Regions from separate parts of the Homo sapiens genome. Here regions 1, 3, 4, 5, 6 and 7 are each linked to region 2. Evidence: promoter capture Hi-C in 16 types of primary human blood cells and fetal thymus (Javierre and others, 2016). All regions are on one chromosome and are shown on one strand. Each heading gives the region's core, a stretch centred on a gene start or on the middle of the fragment in contact. The rest is flanking DNA. Distances are from core to core; before and after follow the strand shown.

Region 1 (2,700 bases), core at 21-2,520, 3.5 Mb after region 2:
AGTTGCATCATAGATTGTGTCTATAATTTAATTATATTGCAAGTGGCATGTATCTTTGCTCTTGATTATACAAACCAAAGTAAACATCTAGGATTCTGTTTATGCCACATAAAAATAGAAGAAAAGGATAGCAGAAGGAGTCAGGAAATGGAATAAGTACAGGAAAATACCCAAAATAAGATGATGGGCATGTGAGTATGTTGAGACTTGAGTACTTAAAGTAGGAAAAAAACTTTTAGCAGGCATGTCTGTAAACTCAGAGAAAGGAATTGGATGCCTTATATAGTCTTGGGTATATGAAACATTGGCACTACCTCAAATTATTTTGAAAGGCTTTTGTGTGCATCAGGAGAAGTTACTTAACATGATGCTTTAAGAACACAGCTTATAGAGTTAGACATATTAAGTTTATGCTGTTTGTCCACTTACAAGCTGAGTGACGTGGAGGTTATTAGGTAAAATAAGGATAATAACAGACCTGTCTTATTGGACACTTATGACAGTCGAGTGAGGTAATCAATATTAAGCTTTTGAAAAGTATCTCCACCAAGTTAGCTCCTAAATATTAGTTATTTTATTGGTTATGTAGTACGGTGTAACAAACCATTTCAAAAGTTAAGGTTTTAAAATAACCATTTCCTTCTGATTCTGTGGATCAGCAGTTTGGGTGGGACACTGCTTGGTGATACTCTAGTGGTCATACAGGACACAATTCCTCCTGTTGTAATAGGTGGTGACAACACATGTGAAATGTCTACCAGGGAAGCTTATTAGAGACTTAATGCCCAGGGTTTTTATTGGGGGCTAAATGCAAAGGCATCCACTGTCTGACATGTACCAAAATTCCAGACTCGCAAGTGTTTAGCATAAACTATATTGTTTGTATGAACAGTTTAGCACAGTGAACCACTCTTACTGGAAACACTCCTGAAATCTAAGCTCCCAAACTGGACTCCAGCTTCAAAGGAGAGCATTCAGGCCTATTGTATTAGTACTTCTGCACACACCACTTAAGGCCTAAGCTCAGAACTCCCACAGCGTCATTCTTGCCACATTCTATTGGTTAAATCAAGTCACAAGCCTGGTCCAGATTCAAAAGGGTAGAAAAATAGGCCACCTCTTTTGGGACAACGTAGGATGGGAGGAAATTGGCTTTTTAGGTTTTTTTTTTTTTTTCCCAATTTATCAGACTTATTACCTATCTCAAAACAAATATATATATTTAAATACAGCTTTAATTAGGTATATTTGTAATTATAAGTTTGCAGTAAATTTGCATGTCTGTTTTTGTGTGAATTTTCAGAATTGAAGGCTACATTTTGTTCTTTCAGAAGGTTTGGCTTAAGAAACCAAAGGGGAGGGAAATATGATTGCGCAGAAATTGTATTATTTTGTTTTCCTAAATTTAATTAAAAGCAATCTTGGTAAATATGAAATGACCTCTCATTCACTATATGTTTTTCTCTATCTGTGCTTGCCTATACATGTTAAATGTTAATTTCAGGTTAACATAAGATACTTTAACTTTGTATTCTGTCCTACTTTAAGATAATGGCTGTGTTTAATCAGAAGTCTGTCTCGGATATGATTAAAGAGTTTCGAAAAAATTGGCGTGCTCTTTGTAACTCTGAGAGAACTACTCTATGTGGTGCAGACTCCATGCTCTTGGCATTGCAGCTTTCTATGGCGGAGAACAACAAACAGGTTGGTAAACTATATTTGGGTTAACTTGTTTTTTTAAAGCAAAATTTCATTGCTGCCCATTTGAATAAACTTAAGCTTAAGAATATTAATTTCTTTACATTATGTGCCCTTCTGTGATAATACACCATTTTCACAAATGCCTCTGTGTATCTGTGTCAGAATGTTATGATAGAATTTGAAATGAATTATTTCAAAATTAAGCTCTTATGTATGGTTATACACGGGACATGCATATTTGATGTTTAATAGGAAGATTTAGGATAAACATGTAACTATTATTATTGTGGTCAAATTATTTTTATTTAATAAGACTTTTTTCATTCCCTAAACTTTTAAAAACTACTGGCTCTTGTACCCCAATCCTGGAAATTCTTCCAATCTGCACCGGGATACTGGAAACTGCCTTTAAAAAATTTCCACAAAGTGATTCTTACTTAGGTAGCTTGAGCCAAACTAGCGTTTGGATTTAAGCCGTAGATTAAGGGTTAGAGGTGTTCAGATGAGAGAAGGATGAATGTAGGATAGAGTGGTAAGGAAAGGCTTTGTGATATTAGATAGATTTTAGATAAAGGAAGAGAAGGCTGTAGAGGAGGTATGATGAGGAAAGTCAGTTCAGAAGAAGGGTTCAGGGGAATCAAAGTCATGGTATGAACTTGGCAAAGATACTGGCTTGACTAGAGAAGAGGATTTTTGAAGGGTAGAATTAGCTTCAATGGGTCTGTTGGGCTAGATATTGAAATGACATTCTGATGAGTTATTTTAATTTTATATGTCAGTAGTTTCCAGATTTTTAGATTCCATAGACAGTAAAATTTCTAAAAAATTATTAGACACTGACAGATTTTAACCATTTCTCATTTTTGCAAATAAGGCCATTGAGAAAAAATAGTTACTATATACTATGATCATCATTTTGAAAAAGGAAGAATATTTTAACACTTAAAAATTAAAAAGTATAAAATCTTAAAACAGGGATAGTGTTTTCTACCTGTGAAT
Region 2 (2,700 bases), core at 157-2,656:
TAACATCTTCTGTAGACTTTTAGACATTATCTCATTGAGTTCTCATAGACTCTGCAAGGTAAGTATTACTCCCATCCAGAACCAGACACCTGATTTGCAGGGTCCAGTGCAAACTAAAAAAAGCGTGGCCCCTTGTTCATACATGTATTAAGAATTTCAAGCCGGGCATGGTGGCTCAGGCCTGTAATCCCAGCACATTGGGAGGCCGAGGTGGGCGGATCACCTGAGCTCAGGAGTTCGAGACCAGACTGGCCAACGTGACGAAACTCTGTCTCTACTAAAAATAGAAAACTTAGCCGGGCGTGGTTGTGCACGCCTGTAGTCCCAGCTACTCCGGGGGCTGAGACAGGAGAATCGCTTGAACCCGGGAGGCGGAGGTTGCGGTGAGCTGAGATCGCCCCACTGCACTCCAGCCTGGGCGACAGAGCAAGACTCCATCTCAAAAGAAAAAAAAAAAAAATCAAAATGACAGCAGAGCATTAAATGAAGTGTAAGGCCATGTGTGACTGTACCAGTGTGAACCTATGAGGCCAGTCCCACCCCTATCTTACATCTAGGGAACAGGTACACAGAGATGAAGTAAATTCCCAAGGTTACTTTGTCAAGAGCTTGGAAAATATAAGAGTCAGAAGTCTAACAGGTTGAATCCCTATTAAACTCTCCCCAACTAAACTACGCCCCTCCCTGTTGAGCTGAATCTAATGAAAGCTTCCTAAATGTATTAACCACACACACGCACAATCTGCTATCAGTCACTTTCAGTAGTTCATCGCTGTAACATCTCAGGAGTTCAATGTTTCAACGTGTTCTGTAGATTACTGTGATAACGCGGCAAGCTGTCGTAAGACTTCTTGCTGCACATTTCTTTTTAAAATATTCTCCAGGAGTCTGATGAAAAATACAGACATACCTATGTTTAATGTCAATGGATGGAACTTATTTTAAAAAGTACTGTAATGGCAGAAGTTGTGACACAAAGTACTGCAGTGATGTTGTAACTCCAACACCTAAATATATTATCAAGCATTCGCGTTTTGTTTTGTTTTTTAAGTGACTACTAGATACTGTGATTCACTTAAGTGAAGCGAACTGAAGCCCGTGGTCAAGGAGAGACACCTGAAGGTGAAGGGACAAAGCGAGCAGGGTAAGAGCTCGAGCCCGACCCCTCTCAAAAAATATAGACCCGGAACGCGCGCCTGCGCAGAACGAATCCTCCCGCGCACAAGCCGGGCGGAAGAGCTGGGGCGGGCAGGGGCGGGAATAAGGTTGCTAGGAGAACGCGATGACGCTACGGGCTCGGCGCTCTTCTCCACCAATGGGCGACGCGTACTTGCAGTGGCGCGCTGTGTGCGTCACGCCGACGACGCGCGAAGGGCACACATCTTAGGACCCGGAGGACGTCCGGCCTCTGTGAGCCGCAACCTTTCCAAGGGAGTGGTTGTGTGATCGCCATCTTAGGGAGTGAGTGTGGCCGGGCCTTCTCCTGTGGCGGGTGTGGGGAGCGGAGCCCAGAGCTCCTGTGGGGCCGCTGCTTTGGCGGTGGGCCCAGCCGGGAGCAGCCTCTTTCGAAGGCCGCCGTGACCTCTTCAAGGGCGTGGAGACGGGAAGGAAAAGGCCCCGGTTGGGGTTCCAGGGCGCCGGTAACGTTAACCGGCGCCTTGCCTGTCCTCTAACCGTCGCTCCCTCCTCCCCTAGAAAGATGTTCTCGTCCGTGGCGCACCTGGCGCGGGCGAACCCCTTCAACACGCCACATCTGCAGCTGGTGCACGATGGTCTCGGGGACCTCCGCAGCAGCTCCCCAGGGCCCACGGGCCAGCCCCGCCGCCCTCGCAACCTGGCAGCCGCCGCCGTGGAAGGTGAGATCAGACCCTGCCCAATACAGTCGTGTGGTCTACTTGTGGGCCGCCCAGCCTTTGAGGCCTGGACCCGGCTTGGAGGACAGGGAAGGACGAGTCCAGCCCGCTGCACCGTAGGACGGCGCCCAGTTGCTTGCCCTGGGGTATCGGCCTTTTCCACCATAGGCGGGTGTCAGATCCTTGGCCTTCCCTCAAGGGCGTGGAAGCGCTGAGGCCCTGTGTCCCTTCGTGACCTCCGTGTGCCCGAGGGAAGAGAGGCCGTGACTAGCTCTTTCTCCGCCGTGAGCTCGCTTGGTCAGCAAACTAAGTACTGGGTAAACTCTCCTCCCGAAACTACTGACCACCCACAGTTCTACTAACTATATTACCTGTCCTTTGATTTGCCCTTAGTTTTCTTAAAAATAGTCCTTTCCTAAGTTTTATATTTGTCGACGCCAGGTCAGTCATTTTTGCACTTAATTGTATATGAGATAACTAGATGTCCTGTTTTCGTGCGACTGGAGGAGGCAGCTTGCAGCCCTACATAGGCAATAGAAAGGAGATAATTGGTGGGCGTCCCTTTGGTGTGATTATCTCTTGGGATTCTTGGTGGTTGGGCCCAGCTTTAACTTAGTTGTGTGTGTTTTAAATCCTAGTGAAGTATGTACATACAGAGAAACCTGAAAACCGAATTGTAGGAGTCCTAAGAATGTTATCTACCTTGTGCCTGTAAAATCGAAAGATTTTTTTCTTTAAATCATTCATGTGCTTCTGTTGTCTTTAGTATGGATAGAGTCCTTATTTACACTATCTGTCGTTCAGTTTAAAAGTTAAAGCTAACATTATTTGTGTATTAAATGTATTT
Region 3 (2,700 bases), core at 149-2,648, 4.1 Mb before region 2:
CAATCCCAGCACTTTGGGAGGCCAAGGTGGGTGAATCACTTGAGGCCAGGAGTTCCGAGACCAGCCTGGCCAATGTGGTGAAACCCTGTCTCTATTCAAAATACAAAAAAAAAGCCAGGTGTGGTGGCATGCACCTGTTAGCCCCAGCCACTTGGGAGGCTGAGGCAGGAGAATCACGTGAACCCACGAGTTCAAGGTTGCAGTGAACAAAGATTGCACCACTACGCTCCAGCCTGGGCGACAGAGCAAAACTCCATCTCAAAAAAAAAAAAAAGAAAAAAGAAATAGTACTAGACTTGACAGTCAGTGATCTCTCCATGACCTAGAGAGGGCAGTCCTGATGAAAAAAATATAATTAATAAACTGATATTCTACTAGGAACCAGGAAATTGACCAAACTCCCCAAGCCCACTGAAGAATAGTGCCAGCATTCCTGAGAGTCCTTACTGCTGGTATTGCCATGGGAAATTCTCAAATACTCACTTTCTAGGAACAGAATCTTTATTTCTGATTCCGTGAATTCCCACTCTTCAATCTTTTTTATAGTTTACTGTTGCCATTTCCCCTTCACTTACTCTCTTCTCTCAACAACCTTACTTTCATGATACTTACAAAAGTGGGGGAAAGTAGAAATGCCTATCTGTCATTGTATTAGTCCATTTTCATATTGCTATAAAGAACTGCCTGAGATTGGGTAATTTATAAAGGAAAGAGGTTTAATTGATTCACAGTTCCACATGGCTGGAGAGGCGTCAGAAAACTTACAATCATGGCAGAAGGTGAAGGGGAAGCAAGGCACCTTCTTCACAAGGTAGCAGGAAGGAGAATGAATGCAGGAGGAACTACCAAACACTTATAAAACCACCAGATCTCATGAGAACTCACTGTCACGAGGAACAGTATGGGGGAAACCGCCGCCATGATCCAATTCCCTCCACCTGGTCTCTTCCCTGACACATGGGGATTATGGGGATTATAATTCAAGGTGAGATTTGGGTGGGGACACAAAGCCTAATCATATCAGTCATCTTTAAGAAACATTTATTCAGCAACTTGTATTTGGAAAAGACTAAGGATACAGCTCATCGAGATCTGAAGTCCTGCCCTTAATAAGCTTACAATCTAGTTAGGAAGTCAAGAAAGCTAAAATAATACAATAAAAAGTATAAGTATCAAATAAATTTAACTCACAAATACATACTATTCCTATGTATGTATGTATGAGGTCATGGTGGAGTTGAACCTTATAGAAAAGGTACAATTTAGATTTTAAGAAAGAAGGGAATAAGATCAGGTCACGGGGGATAGAAAGATATGCAGACTAATATGGAAAGGATAAAGTACAGAGCAGGTTTAGGGGATAGTGAAGAAACCAATCTGGGCAGAGACACCTTTTCCATAAAGAACATACACTTGAAAAGGCAAGGTGAGAGGATTTCAAATAATTCACCTTAAGTCAAGAAACATGAACTTGGGTTAAAAGGAAGTTTTTTACACAGATTTACACACATTCCCTAAAAGCACATAGGTTAAACAATGTGGGCAATTTACTTATGGAACCTAATATGTATGACAAAATTAAAAGCAAGCTCATCTACTTTTAGGCAAAGAGACAGTACCTGGGGGTGGGGAAATTCTGACAATTCACTAAAATTCACTAATCTTTCTGTTAAGATTTCACTCTAAGCTTCTTGAATTAGAACATCCCATGACATAATGCTGATTTCTGATTACTAAGGATTATACGAGTCATTCTTGATTTGTCTCCTCCATCTTGCCCAACTTTTGAATATTTCATTACTTCAACATCAGCATATAGAAAAAAGGAGGAGAGAACTAAAATTAAGTCCATGGATTTTAGCAATACATAAGGGTATCTGACATAAAGAACATTAAACTTCAAGTTCCAATTCCCATTATTAATAGATTTCAAAGAAGTCATTTAGTCTCATCATGTCTCAAATTTTCTCACATACTTGCTTACTTGAAAGGTTATTGATTGAAAAGATCATTCAAAAAGTGCTCTAAAAACTAACAACTTGCCATAAAAATTTTATCATTAAGGGTTCAATAAGAGGAGACAGTGAGGTGACTGGTAAACCAAGGATTAAAAACTACCTGTGAATAGGCCAGGCACGCTGGCTCACACCTGTAATCCCAGCACTTTGGGAGGTCAAGGTGGGCAGATCGCCTGAAGTCAGGAGTTCGTGACCAGCCTGGGCAATATGGTGAAACCCCATCTCTACTAAAAATACAAAAATTAGCAGGGCATGGTGGCATGCACCTGTAACCCCAGCTACTCGGGAGGCTGAGAGGAGAGAATCACTTGAAACTGGGAGGCGGAAGTTGCAGTGAGCTGAGATCCCACCACTGCACTCCAGCCTGAGCGACAAGAATGAAACTCTGTCTCAAAAAAAGAAAAAAAAAAAAACTACCTGTGAATAATCAGTGTTTCATTCTCCCAGTGCTGCATGGAATTCTAAATTGTATTTCACTATTATTTGAGAATGTTCTAAATACAGTCCGCGCACTTCATCTGATCTGGAAAGAAAACACTCAAAGTAAGGGGAATACCCAGCATACTCTGTCCTAAATAACCAAAGGACAACTCAAAACCATTTGCAACTCTCAGGAGAGTCCTGTGTGACACTTATAATTTAAAGCATTCTGGCCTGGTGCGGTGGCTCACACCTGTAATCC
Region 4 (2,700 bases), core at 160-2,659, 4.9 Mb before region 2:
GAGCAGTCTGGCCAACGTGGTGAAACCCGGTCTCTACTAAAAAAAAAAAAAAAAAAAAAATCAGCCAGGCGTGGTGGTGCATACCTGTAGTCCCAGCTACTTGGGAGGCTGAGGTGGGAGAATTGCTTCAACCAGGGAGGCGGAGGTTTCAGTGAGCTGAGATTGTGCCATTGCATTCCAGCCTGGGCAACAGAGCAAGAATCCGTCTCAAACAAAAAAAAAAAAAGAAAGAAAATTGAATTTGGTAAACAATGTAATTTCATTCTATAGGCTACTAGCCCCTCAACCACAAGTCACTTTACCTCTCTGTGCCTCACTGTTCCCTTTCATAAAATTAGGTGCCATTTCTTAGTTCTTTTCCATTTCCAGAATTCTGTGATTATATTATGGTGCACATTCTATGTAATAGTTTGTATTTTTTTCAAAGAGATATCATATATACTAGCTCACTTGATCCTTACAAGAACCCAATCCTTCTGTATGTAAAAAGAAAATTTTGTCAAGTATCAACTTTGGAGGCCTGAATCTTAGAAAATGTGTAATAATCATTGTACAGGTTCAGCAGGACACTCAGATATTTATTAATTAACTAACTGAAGAAATGCTGTTTTGGCTAATGTCTTGCTGTGCTCACAGCATATGCGTCATGGGAAGAATGCTCTTGTATAGCCAAGCTTTGATGTCCATGTGCTCTCAAAGGAAACCACACAAATGCTGCAGCCTTTTAGGGGAGAGCCATGGGGCTCTACATTGAGGCTAAGCTGCCCTGACCTTACTTTGCTGGATGAGTGTTCTAGGGAATCTGGCCAATCTGAAAGGAACATTCATATTAATATGGTAATAAAAAGCTTGGGACTCTGGAATAAGCCTGACTTTTATTTGAATCCTGGCTTTGCCACTTAACTAGTTATAGTTACTTTATAAGGCTGTACAAGGATGGAATTAAATTCAGTGAGCTAATATGTGAAAAAATGTCCAGTTTCTGGCATGTAATAAATGTTCAATGATTGTTAACTAAAAAATATTAGGGTGGGAGCTGTCAAAGGAAATTGGATAATTTAAATTTAGTCTCAATGAATCTATTACTTACATAAAAACTGTGTTGTTCTGCATTCTGCTCATCTTTCACGTTCAAATACACATTAGGCTTATTCACTAATTGATTCATTAATTTCTTAATTCAATGACTATTTATTGAGCACCTATTATGTGTCAAACTCTATTATAAATAAACACTGGAAATGCAGAAGCAAACAAGACATTAAGAGTCCCTACTCTTATGGACGTGCATTTTAATGGGGAGTGACAGAAAATATCCTCCTTCCCAATAAAAAAACAAACAAATAAGAAAATTAACTGGTAATGATAAATGCTAAGAAAAACATGAAATTAGGCAATGTGATAGACTCTGGGGAGCAATTTTAGATTGGGTGTTCAAGGAAGGCCTCTCTATGGATGAAAAGATGAAGCAAAGTTCCGGGGTCCAAGCAAGATATGATGTAGAAGAGAGTAGAGGTGGTTAGGATGGAGAGAGGCGAATGGGTTAGGGGATGATGTAGAGGAAGAGCAATAGTACTTATTGATGGGTCGGACAGTAGGTGTGAGGGACAGAGAGGAATTAAGGAGGAGCCCTGAAGTCTTTGACTTGAGTGGATGGTGGTACCATTTACAGAAGTGGAGCAGGCTGAGTAGAGTAAATTGGGAGTGAGAGGATCAGGAGTCTGGTTTGGGAAAGATTAAGTTTGAAGTGCCTATTGAACTCCAGTGGAGGTGTCAAGTAGACAACTGGATACACAAGGTCATAGCGAAACATTTGGGGGATTTTTGCCTTTAGATAATATTTAATGGAGTGGGCGGGATGAGAATGGTTAGGGGAAAGAGCACACTCTCACTTCTCGACAATGGGAGTTAAAAAAGAGAAGAGGTTCCTGGTATATTCTTACATTTTCAGGTATCTATGACTCATAACAAAAGCTTACAGTAATAAAATACAGTCCTCATAGAATTACCCACATGGAAATAAATTGATAGGAAATTCTGGCCTTTTCACATTCTTTAGTATACATGAATGGGAATCAGAAATAAGTCGGATTGTAATACACTAGTCATTCTTTGACCCACATTTTTGACTGCCTACTGCTAGGCACTGTATGTAAAAGGAAATCAATAGCACAGTCATGTTGTTGGTCAAACATTTACTGAGCACATGCTGTGTGCATAGTACCAGATGAGTCGGGTAGAGACTAAAAAATGGAAAATTAATTTTCTGCCCCAAGAAAAAGCGGTCTAAATTAGGGATGGAGTACAAACCACTCAAAAGTTTAAAGAAGAGTATGTTTCCTTTTCCTTCCACATATCTGATGTTCTTAGGCCACTAGGAGTTCTTGCACTGCTATAAAGAAACACCTGAGACTGGGTAACGCATAAAGAAAAGAGGTTTAATTGGCTCACAGTTGCACAGGCTGCTAAGGAAGCATGATGCTGGCATCTGCTCAGCTTCTGGGGAGGCCTCAGGAAACTTACAATCATGGCAGAAGGCGAAGGGGAAAGAGGCACATCTTATGTGGCCTGAGCAGAAGCAAGGGGTGTGGGGTAGGTGCCACACACTTTTAAACAACCAAATCTCGTGATAACTCACTCACTATCATGAGAACAGCAGCATGGGGGAATTCCACCCCCATGATCCAATCACTTCCCAAC
Region 5 (2,700 bases), core at 191-2,690, 3.6 Mb before region 2:
GGAAGGATTGCTTGAGCCCAGGAGGTCAGGGCTGCAGTAAGCCATGGTCACACCACTGTACTTTTGCCTGGGCAACATAGCGAGACCCTATCTTTAAAAAAAGTGGTTGGTAGGCCGGGCGCAGTGGCTCACGCCTGTAATCCCAGCACGTTGGGAGGCCGAGGTGGGTGGATCACGAGGTCAGGAGATCAACACAATCCTGGCTAACATGGTGAAACCTCGTCTCTACTAAAAAAATACAAAAAATTTAGCTGGGCATGGTGGTCAGCGCCTGTAGTCCCAGCTACTCAGGAGGCTGAGGCAGGAGAATGACGTGAACCTGGGAGGTGGAGCTTGCAGTGAGCTGAGATCACGCCACTGCACTCCAGCCTGGGAGACAGAACAAGACTCCATCTCAAAAAAAAAAAAAAAAAAAAAGCGGTTGGCAGGGACAAAGTACCCAGACATTTCTCAGAAGACATACAAATGGTCAACAGCTATATGAAAAAAATGCTCATTGTCACTAATCATCAGGGAAACCAGATCAGACTGTGCAACATAGCAAGAGCTCACTTCTACTAAAAATAAAAATAGGCCAGGCACAGTGGCTCACACCTGTAATCCCAGCACTCTGGGAGGCCGAGGTGGACAGATCACCTGAGGTCAGGAATTTGAGACCAGCCTGGCCAATATGGTGAAACCCCGTCTCTACTAAAAATACAAAAGTTAGCTGGGCATGGTGGTGTGCACCTGTAATCCTAGCTACTCAGGAGGCTGAGGCAGGAGAATCGCTTGAACCCGGGAGGCAGAGGTTGCGGTGAGCTGGGATCACGTCACTGCATCCCAGTCTGGGCGACAAGAGCATAACTCTGTCTCTAAATAAATAAATAAATAAATAAATAAATAAGCTAGTCTCAGCTACTCAGGAGGCTGAGTTGGGAAGATCGCTTGAGCACAGCATATTGAAGCTGTAGTGGGCTATTAATGTGCCACTGAACTCCAGCCTGGGAGACAGAACAAGACCCTGTCTTCAAAAGAAAAAAAAAGAAAAACAAGCAGAGTAGAATGGTGGTTACCACGGGCAGGAGGAGTGGAGAGTATAAGAAAGAGGAGATGTTGATAAAAGAGTACAAAATTTCAGTTAGGAGGACTAAGCTTTAGTGCTCTACTGCACAGAATGGTGACTGTAATAAATAATAATTCACTGTATATTTGGAAATTGCTAAAATAATTTTAAGTGTTTTTACCACAAAAAAATGATAAGTATGTGAGGTAATTGATTTACTAATTGGCTTGATTTAATCATTCCACAATGTAAACATGTATCAAAACATCATATTGTACCCCACAAATATATACAATTATTATTTGTCAATTAAAAATAAAATTTTAGCCTGGGCAACACTGTGAGACCCCTATCTCCTAAAAAAAAACCAGCAGGTTGTGGTGATGCACCCCTGTAGTCCCAGCTACTTGGGAGGCTGAGGCAGGAGGATGGCTTAAGCCCAGGAGGTTGAGGCTGGAGTGAGCTGTGAAAGCACCAGTGCACTCAGCCTGGGCGACAGAGTGAGACCCTATCTCAAATAAAATATTTTTAAAAACTGAGAACCCCTCCCCTCTAAAAACCTCCAAAGAACTCCAAATGCAGCTTGAATGGGTTCCAACTAGTCAAATTGAGCCCAATTTGAACAATAAAAGAACCATTTAAAGCAATGGATTATAACCCATTGATTAAAATAGGAGTTGATACAGATACAAATAATGAATTAAAGCTTTGATGAGTAAGGGGATACTTACATAACCTCAAAGTGTCTCCCCACAAAATGCTAATTAATTTCAAAGGGAAAATTAGTAACTTTAGAATGGAGAAAACCGGCAGACCCCTTAATCACGTGATAGAGGTTTTCATTAATAATAGGACAAAAACAAATCAGCTGCTACTTAATAGAGTGCAACAAGAAAAACATGGCTTCAGTGACAGGAATGTCACAGAAGCATAGCCTGAACCTAGTCATGAGGAAACATTCAACAAACTCACTGAGGGACCTTCAACAATATAACTGTCAAGTAATTTTCAAAAGCGTCAAGGTCATGAAAATCACAGAAAAGTTGAGGAACCAATCAAGTGTGAAGGAGACTAAAGAACTTGAGATCCATATGAAATGTGTGATTGGATCTCTCTATAAAGGACACTGTTGGGACAACTGACGAAACCTGAGTGGCTGAAGTTCAGAACACGCTGCTCCAAAATATGCAGCTCTGGCATATGGACTATGCTGAGTTAAAGGCACTTGAACAACAGCAGGCACGGCTGGGTGTGGTGGCTCATGCCTGTAATCTCAGCACTTTGGGAGGCCAAGGTAGGCAGATCACTTGAGGCCAGGAGTTCAAGACCAGCCTGGCCAACATGATGAAACCCCGTCTCTACTTAAAATACAAAAATTCGCCAGGTGTAGTGGCACATGCCTGTAATCCCACCTACTTGGGAGGCTGAGATAGGAGGATCATTTGAGCCCAGGAGGTCGAGGCTGCAGACTGTACCACTGCACTCCAGCCTGGGTGACAGGGCAGGACATTGTCTCAAAAAAAAAAAAAAAAAAAAAAAAAGGTAAAGAAAAACAGCAGGCACAAGAATAATATGGCCTTTTTCTTTCTGAAAGCAGGAGAAAAAATTCCCACATCAAAGATATCCTCCCTATACCAGAAGGAAACTATCATTCT
Region 6 (2,700 bases), core at 201-2,700, 3.6 Mb before region 2:
GCTGTGGCCAGGCACAGTGACTCACATCTGTAATTCCAGCACTTTGGGAGGCTGAGGTGGGAGGATCACCTGAGCCCAGGAATTCAAGACCAGCCTAAGAAACATAGCAAGACCTCGTCTCTCCAAAAAAAAATTTTTTTAAACAATTAGCCAGGCATGGTGACACATGCCTGTAATCCCAGCTACTTGGGTGGCTGAGGTAGGAGGACAGCTTGAGCCCAGAAAGTTGAGGCTGTAGTGAGCCATGATCGAGTCACTGCACTCTAGACTGGGTGACAGAGCGAGACCCTGTCTCAACATTAAATAAATAAATAAATTTTTAAAATATAATAAAACAATGCTGTGATGTATGTTGGTTTGCAAGAATATTTGTAGAATTAATTCTTTTTTGAGATAAGAGTCTCGCTCTGTTGCCAGACTGGAGTAGAGTGGCGGGATCTGGGCTCACTGCAACTTCCGACTCCCTGGTTCAAGCGATTCTCCTGCTTCAGCCTCTCAGGTAGCTGGGATTACAGGCACACGCCACCACATCCAGCTAATTTTTGTATTTTTAGTAGCGACTGGGTTTCACCACGTTGGGCAGGATGCTCTCGATCTCCTGACCTCGTGATCCGCCCGCCTCCGCCTCCCAAAGTGCTGGGATTACAGGCGTGAGCCACCGCGCCCAGCCGAATTAATTGTTAAAAGTGGAAGTGCTGAGACAAAGGATATGTGCAATGTAAATTTTTACAAATGTTACCAAATTATCCCTCCAAAAAGACTGCATTAACCTACATATTTATATGGTTTTGCCCACATTGGGATTTATCAGCTTGAAAAATACTCAAGGCTGGACGCAGTGGCTCACGCCTGTAATCCCAGCACTTTGGGGGGCCAAGGCGGGTGGATCACGAGGTCAGGAGTTCAAGACCAGCCTGGCCAATATGGTGAAACCCCATCTCTACTAAAAAATACAAAAATTAGCCGGCCATGGTGGCGCCCGCCTGTGGTCCCAACTACTCAGGCAGGCTGAGGCAGGAGAATCGCTGGAACCCAGGAGGTGGAGGTTGCAGTGAGCCGAGATCGCGCTACTGCACTCCAGCCTGGCCGACAGAGACTCCATCTCAAAAAAAAAAAAAAAAAAAAAAAAAAAGAACAAAAACACTTCAAAATTTGATAGGTGAAAAATATATAACACTGTTTTTAAAGTTGCATTTCTGTTGTTACAAGTGAGAATGAGCATTTTTCCATACCTTCATTGGCTGTTTACTTTTCTTTTTTCTGTAAATTATCTTTTTTCATTTTCTATTGAGTTTTTCATCCTTTTCCAGGTGTTTTGTAAAAGCTCATTGCATAATATGGAAAATAGACTCAAATCAAATCCCAATCCCAATCCAATTATTCATACTAAAAAATACTGCACTCACCAAAAAATTGCTTGTTGTCTTCATAGTATTTGTTTCCATATTTGTCTTCCCCCACTAATGTACCAACCTTCGCATCATTTGTCCTGTGAATACCCAAAAGAAAACAGACATTTTAGAATGATTCTTAGTTCAAAACATAAACGGAAATAAAGTGAGAGTAACAACTTTCAGACACAAGGGCTGCTGCATCAACTAGCAAAATGAAGAAGTGCTGGGGATGGGAAAAGATGAATTGACAACTGATGTGCTCAAATTACACTAAAAATATAAATGTAGTCTCTTCAGATTACAGGACTACTTGTATCTACTATCCCTCAGCCAGGAGGCACTGGAATTAGCAAAACCTTTAGGAAATCAAAAAGCCAAAGTATTTCATCTTCTTACAATGATACGAAGGTCTCCAGGCTCTTTCATTCCACTCTGGGTCTCCATTTAGGTTTCTGCGAAACTATGCTGCTCGTGGGATCAGTGAATGTCAGGAAGAGAAGGGACCATCATTATTACCTTCAACGCCTTACAGACAAGGAACTGTACGGCAGTGCAGGGAAAAAAACTTTACCAGGGTCACTGAGTTAATGTCTTGTAATCCTCATTACTCTCCAGGGCGTGGGAAAAGAGGGGAGCCCAGATGCCCTTGCCTCCGAGTCACAGCTCTGACTCTACAGATAGCTTCGGTCTTGTATCGGGGATATATGGGACAGAGACCAGCCTGGGGGTGGCAAGGCAGAGATTGGGGCGGTTGTCCTTGACAAGAGCTGTGGATTCTCCAAGGTGACCCGAGCCTGGGACCCCTTCCAAGAAATCAGCCAGCGAAAGTCCAGCCCCAGAGGCCAAGAGCATGGCTCTGGCCGCCTACCTGAAAAAAACCCGTAGATAGCCTCGGAGACCGCCGTGGCCGGTGATCTGCTGCAGCCCGCGTTTCAGGACCTGCACTAACTCCATCTTGCCTCGCTGGCCCCGCCTCCCGGGTGCGCCGAGCAAAACCCACCGGATGGAAGCTGCCACTCAGCCGCAGGAAGCCCACGCCCAGAAGGTTCTCACGCGAACGCCAGACGTGGTGGCTCTGCGCGTGCGCAGAGCTAGGTCTTGCCTACGCGGTCATGTTCTGGCTTCCCAAGTAGGCAGAATTGGTTTCCCCTGGAAGCAAAGGTACCTTAAAATTTAGTTTTCAGAGGTTAAATCTAGAAGGCGGGCATATGCTGGAAAGCTCACCTACACGAGGCTTTCTCACACGGGGATTCCCCCTTTGGGAATTTCAGTTTCCTCATCTAAAAATAATTGGCTCTGGTGGGCG
Region 7 (2,700 bases), core at 31-2,530, 3.5 Mb after region 2:
ATGAGAATTTTTTGTTTCTGTCCTGTGGTTGAGTTGGTGCCACAGAGAATTTCCATAAAATTCAATTCCATTATTTAAAATAGTTTTTTTTAACTAGTTTTTCTATCAACCAGCCCCAGTCTGAAACTTGACACAGTGTTAACACAAAAGAGCAAGTACTTAATCTTCGTTCACATACTCTACCTACAAAGACATGACCTACAGTAGTTCTTCAAGCAGGTCAGTTTTAGGAGACGTTAATTCTATCTAACTAGACTAGCTATTTCACAACTATGTAAGACAACTTTATAAACTTTGCTTTAACTTACAAAGGTCATTTAATAATCCCATTGTTTTGACGATTCTAAAGATTGTAAGTTTATTTTTACAGTCTACTCTTAAATATTACTGTTGAGGCATATATATGGCAATGGTGGACTTAATTCTGCCTAAGATATCTGAGCATCTGTAGTAAAATATGAAGCTACCTTCATTTGGTTGATATGCTAAAGACATTTTTAAAAGTATCTCATTTTTTAAAAACTTGGTTTGTGTGTTTTGTATGCTCAGGAATTTTTCCACAGTACTGGAGACCATTGCAGTGATTAAATTTGGCCCTTTTGACAGAAAACAGAACAATGCATTCCTAGGGATAAAAAAGGGGTGACTGCAAAGGAGCATGAGGGAATTTTTGGAGTGATTCTATATCTTGTTCTACAACTATTCTACATCTTGATTATGGTATGATTATGCATTTGTCCAATCTCATACTTAATGGTAAATTTTACTGCATATAAGTTCATACTCCAATAAACATGACTTTACAATTAAAACAAAAGAAATATGAAGGCTCATAAGAGATTGCTATGACCAATTATATGCCAACAGATTGGATAACCTAGAATGGATAAGTTCCTAGACACATACAACCTATCAAGACTAAATCATAAAGAAATAGGTAATCTGAACAGACCAATAATAAGTAGAGAGATCAAATCAGTAGTTAAGTCTCCCACTAAACAAAACCCCCAGGACTTGATGCCTTCACTACTGAATTCTACCAAACATTTAAAGAAGAACTAATACAAATCCTTCTCAAACTCTTCCAAAATACTGAAGAGGAGGGGAAACTTTCGAACTCAATTTAGGAGGCCAGCATTATCCTGATTCCAAAGCCAGACAAATCCACTACAAGAAAAGAAAATCAAAGGTCAATATCCCCAGTGAACATAGAAGCAAAAATCCTCTACAAAATACTGGCAAGCTGAATACAACAGCGCATTAAAAAGGTCATTCACCAGGATCAAGTCAGATTTATCCCTGGGATACAAGGATGGTTCAACATATGCAAATCAGTAAAGGTGATACATCACATTAACAGAATGAAAGACAAAAACCGTATGATCATCTCAATAGATGGAACAAAGGCATTTGACAAAATTCAACATCCTTTGATGATAAAAACTCTCAACAAATTAGGTATAGAAAGAATCTAGCTCAACACAATGAAGGCCATTTATGACAAGCCCACAGCTAGCATCATACGCAATGGTGAAAACTGAAAGTTTTTCCTCTAAGATGAGGGACAAGACAAGGATATTCACTCTTACCCCTTCTATTCAACATAGTACTAGAAGTCCTAGCTATAGTAATTAGACAAGAGGGAAAAATAAAAGGCATTGAAATTGGAAAAAAGGAAATGAAATTGTTTCTGTTCGCAGATGGCATGCTCTTATATATTGAAAATCTTATAAAAAATTCCACCAAAAAATTGTTAGAACTAACAAACTACTTTGGTAAAGCTGCAGGATATAAAATCAACATACAAAAATCAGTAGCATTTCTATACACTAAAAGTAAACTATCTGAAAAAAAAGAAAAAAAATCTCATTTACAATAGCTACAAAAAAAATACATAGGGGTAAATTTAACCAGTGAGGTGAAAGATCTGTACACTGAAAACTATAACACATTGATGAAAAAAATTGAAGAAGACACAAATAAATGGAAAGATAACGTGTGTTCATGGATTGGAAACATGAATGTTGTTACAAGGTTGACACCACTCAAAGCAATCTACAGACTCAATGCAATCCCTATCAATTTTCCAATAATATTTTCACAGTAATAGAAAAAAAAATCCTAAAATTCATACTGAACCACAAAAGACCCTGAACAGGCAATGCAATATTAAGCCAAAAAAACAAAGCCAGAGAGATCACACTCTCTGATTTGAAAATCTACCACAAAGCTACAGTAATCAAAACAGCCATAGACCAAGGAAACAGAATAAAGAGCCCAGAAATAAATCCATGCATTTAAAGTCAATTGATTTTTGAGAAAGATGTTAAGAACACAGAAAAGACAGTTACAGAAACATACTTTTCACAGATGTTAAGAATAACAGTCTCAATAAATCATTTTGGGACAACTGGATATCCACATGCAGAATGAAATTAGACCCTCATCCTTTACCATATAAAAAAATTTAACACGAAAAGGATTCAAGATTTAAATGTAAGACCTGAAACTGTAAAACTACTAGAAGAAAACATAAGGGGAAAGTTGCACGACATTGGTCTGGGCAATGACTTTTTTTGGATATAAACCCCAAAGCACTGGTAACAAAACCAAAAATAAATAAATGGGATTACATCACACTAAGAAGTTTGTAGAATCTGGATTTTAAATTATTTTTTAAAAATTATTTTAAAAGACTAC

What was found. The method cuts DNA at HindIII sites, captures the fragments that hold promoters and counts their contacts. A CHiCAGO score of 5 or more calls a contact.
Region 1: a fragment that was not itself captured here is called in contact with the fragment with the promoter of SLC25A3 in region 2 in 2 of 17 cell types (non-activated CD4 T cells and naive CD8 T cells); the score reaches 8.5 in non-activated CD4 T cells.
Region 3: a contact is called between a fragment that was not itself captured here and the fragment with the promoter of SLC25A3 in region 2, in 2 of 17 cell types (non-activated CD4 T cells and naive CD8 T cells). The highest score is 9.2, in non-activated CD4 T cells.
Region 4: a contact is called between a fragment that was not itself captured here and the fragment with the promoter of SLC25A3 in region 2, in 1 of 17 cell types (non-activated CD4 T cells). The highest score is 9.6, in non-activated CD4 T cells.
Region 5: a fragment that was not itself captured here is called in contact with the fragment with the promoter of SLC25A3 in region 2 in 1 of 17 cell types (total CD4 T cells); the score reaches 8.7 in total CD4 T cells.
Region 6: a contact is called between a fragment that was not itself captured here and the fragment with the promoter of SLC25A3 in region 2, in 3 of 17 cell types (naive CD8 T cells, non-activated CD4 T cells and activated CD4 T cells). The highest score is 7.4, in naive CD8 T cells.
Region 7: a fragment that was not itself captured here is called in contact with the fragment with the promoter of SLC25A3 in region 2 in 3 of 17 cell types (naive CD8 T cells, total CD4 T cells and activated CD4 T cells); the score reaches 10.0 in naive CD8 T cells.

What each region holds. Positions count from the first base shown.
Region 1 is chr12:102,122,338-102,125,037 of GRCh38, forward strand. PARPBP (PARP1 binding protein) reads left to right here. Exons shown (of 11, transcript NM_017915.5): 2 at 1,549-1,704. The coding sequence starts at 1,552. Among named protein-coding and RNA genes, the nearest start is that of PARPBP, 3.5 kb to the left of the region's middle. The HindIII fragment of the contact is 1,013 bases long and covers 765-1,777 here.
Region 2 is chr12:98,592,280-98,594,979 of GRCh38, forward strand. It overlaps SLC25A3 (solute carrier family 25 member 3), which reads left to right and starts at 1,407. Exons shown (of 8, transcript NM_002635.4): 1 at 1,407-1,461; 2 at 1,696-1,856. The coding sequence starts at 1,700. RefSeq lists enhancers at 929-1,148, 1,197-1,821, 1,399-1,498, 1,822-2,446. The HindIII fragment of the contact is 3,126 bases long and covers 707-2,700 here.
Region 3 is chr12:94,455,788-94,458,487 of GRCh38, forward strand. The region is part of intron 1 of CEP83 (centrosomal protein 83); the gene reads right to left. Among named protein-coding and RNA genes, the nearest start is that of CEP83, 2.7 kb to the right of the region's middle. RefSeq lists a silencer at 8-157. The HindIII fragment of the contact is 573 bases long and covers 1,113-1,685 here.
Region 4 is chr12:93,667,143-93,669,842 of GRCh38, forward strand. No RefSeq gene overlaps it. Among named protein-coding and RNA genes, the nearest start is that of CRADD, 8.9 kb to the right of the region's middle. The HindIII fragment of the contact is 1,126 bases long and covers 847-1,972 here.
Region 5 is chr12:94,985,231-94,987,930 of GRCh38, forward strand. All of the region lies in intron 3 of NDUFA12 (NADH:ubiquinone oxidoreductase subunit A12), which reads right to left. Among named protein-coding and RNA genes, the nearest start is that of NDUFA12, 17 kb to the right of the region's middle. The HindIII fragment of the contact is 617 bases long and covers 1,133-1,749 here.
Region 6 is chr12:95,001,333-95,004,032 of GRCh38, forward strand. It overlaps NDUFA12 (NADH:ubiquinone oxidoreductase subunit A12), which reads right to left and starts at 2,365. Exons shown (of 4, transcript NM_018838.5): 1 at 2,263-2,365; 2 at 1,407-1,489. The coding sequence starts at 2,348. RefSeq lists enhancers at 1,996-2,623, 2,088-2,487. The HindIII fragment of the contact is 6,573 bases long and covers 1-2,700 here.
Region 7 is chr12:102,055,790-102,058,489 of GRCh38, forward strand. The region is part of intron 2 of WASHC3 (WASH complex subunit 3); the gene reads right to left. Among named protein-coding and RNA genes, the nearest start is that of WASHC3, 4.9 kb to the right of the region's middle. The HindIII fragment of the contact is 2,843 bases long and covers 1-2,700 here.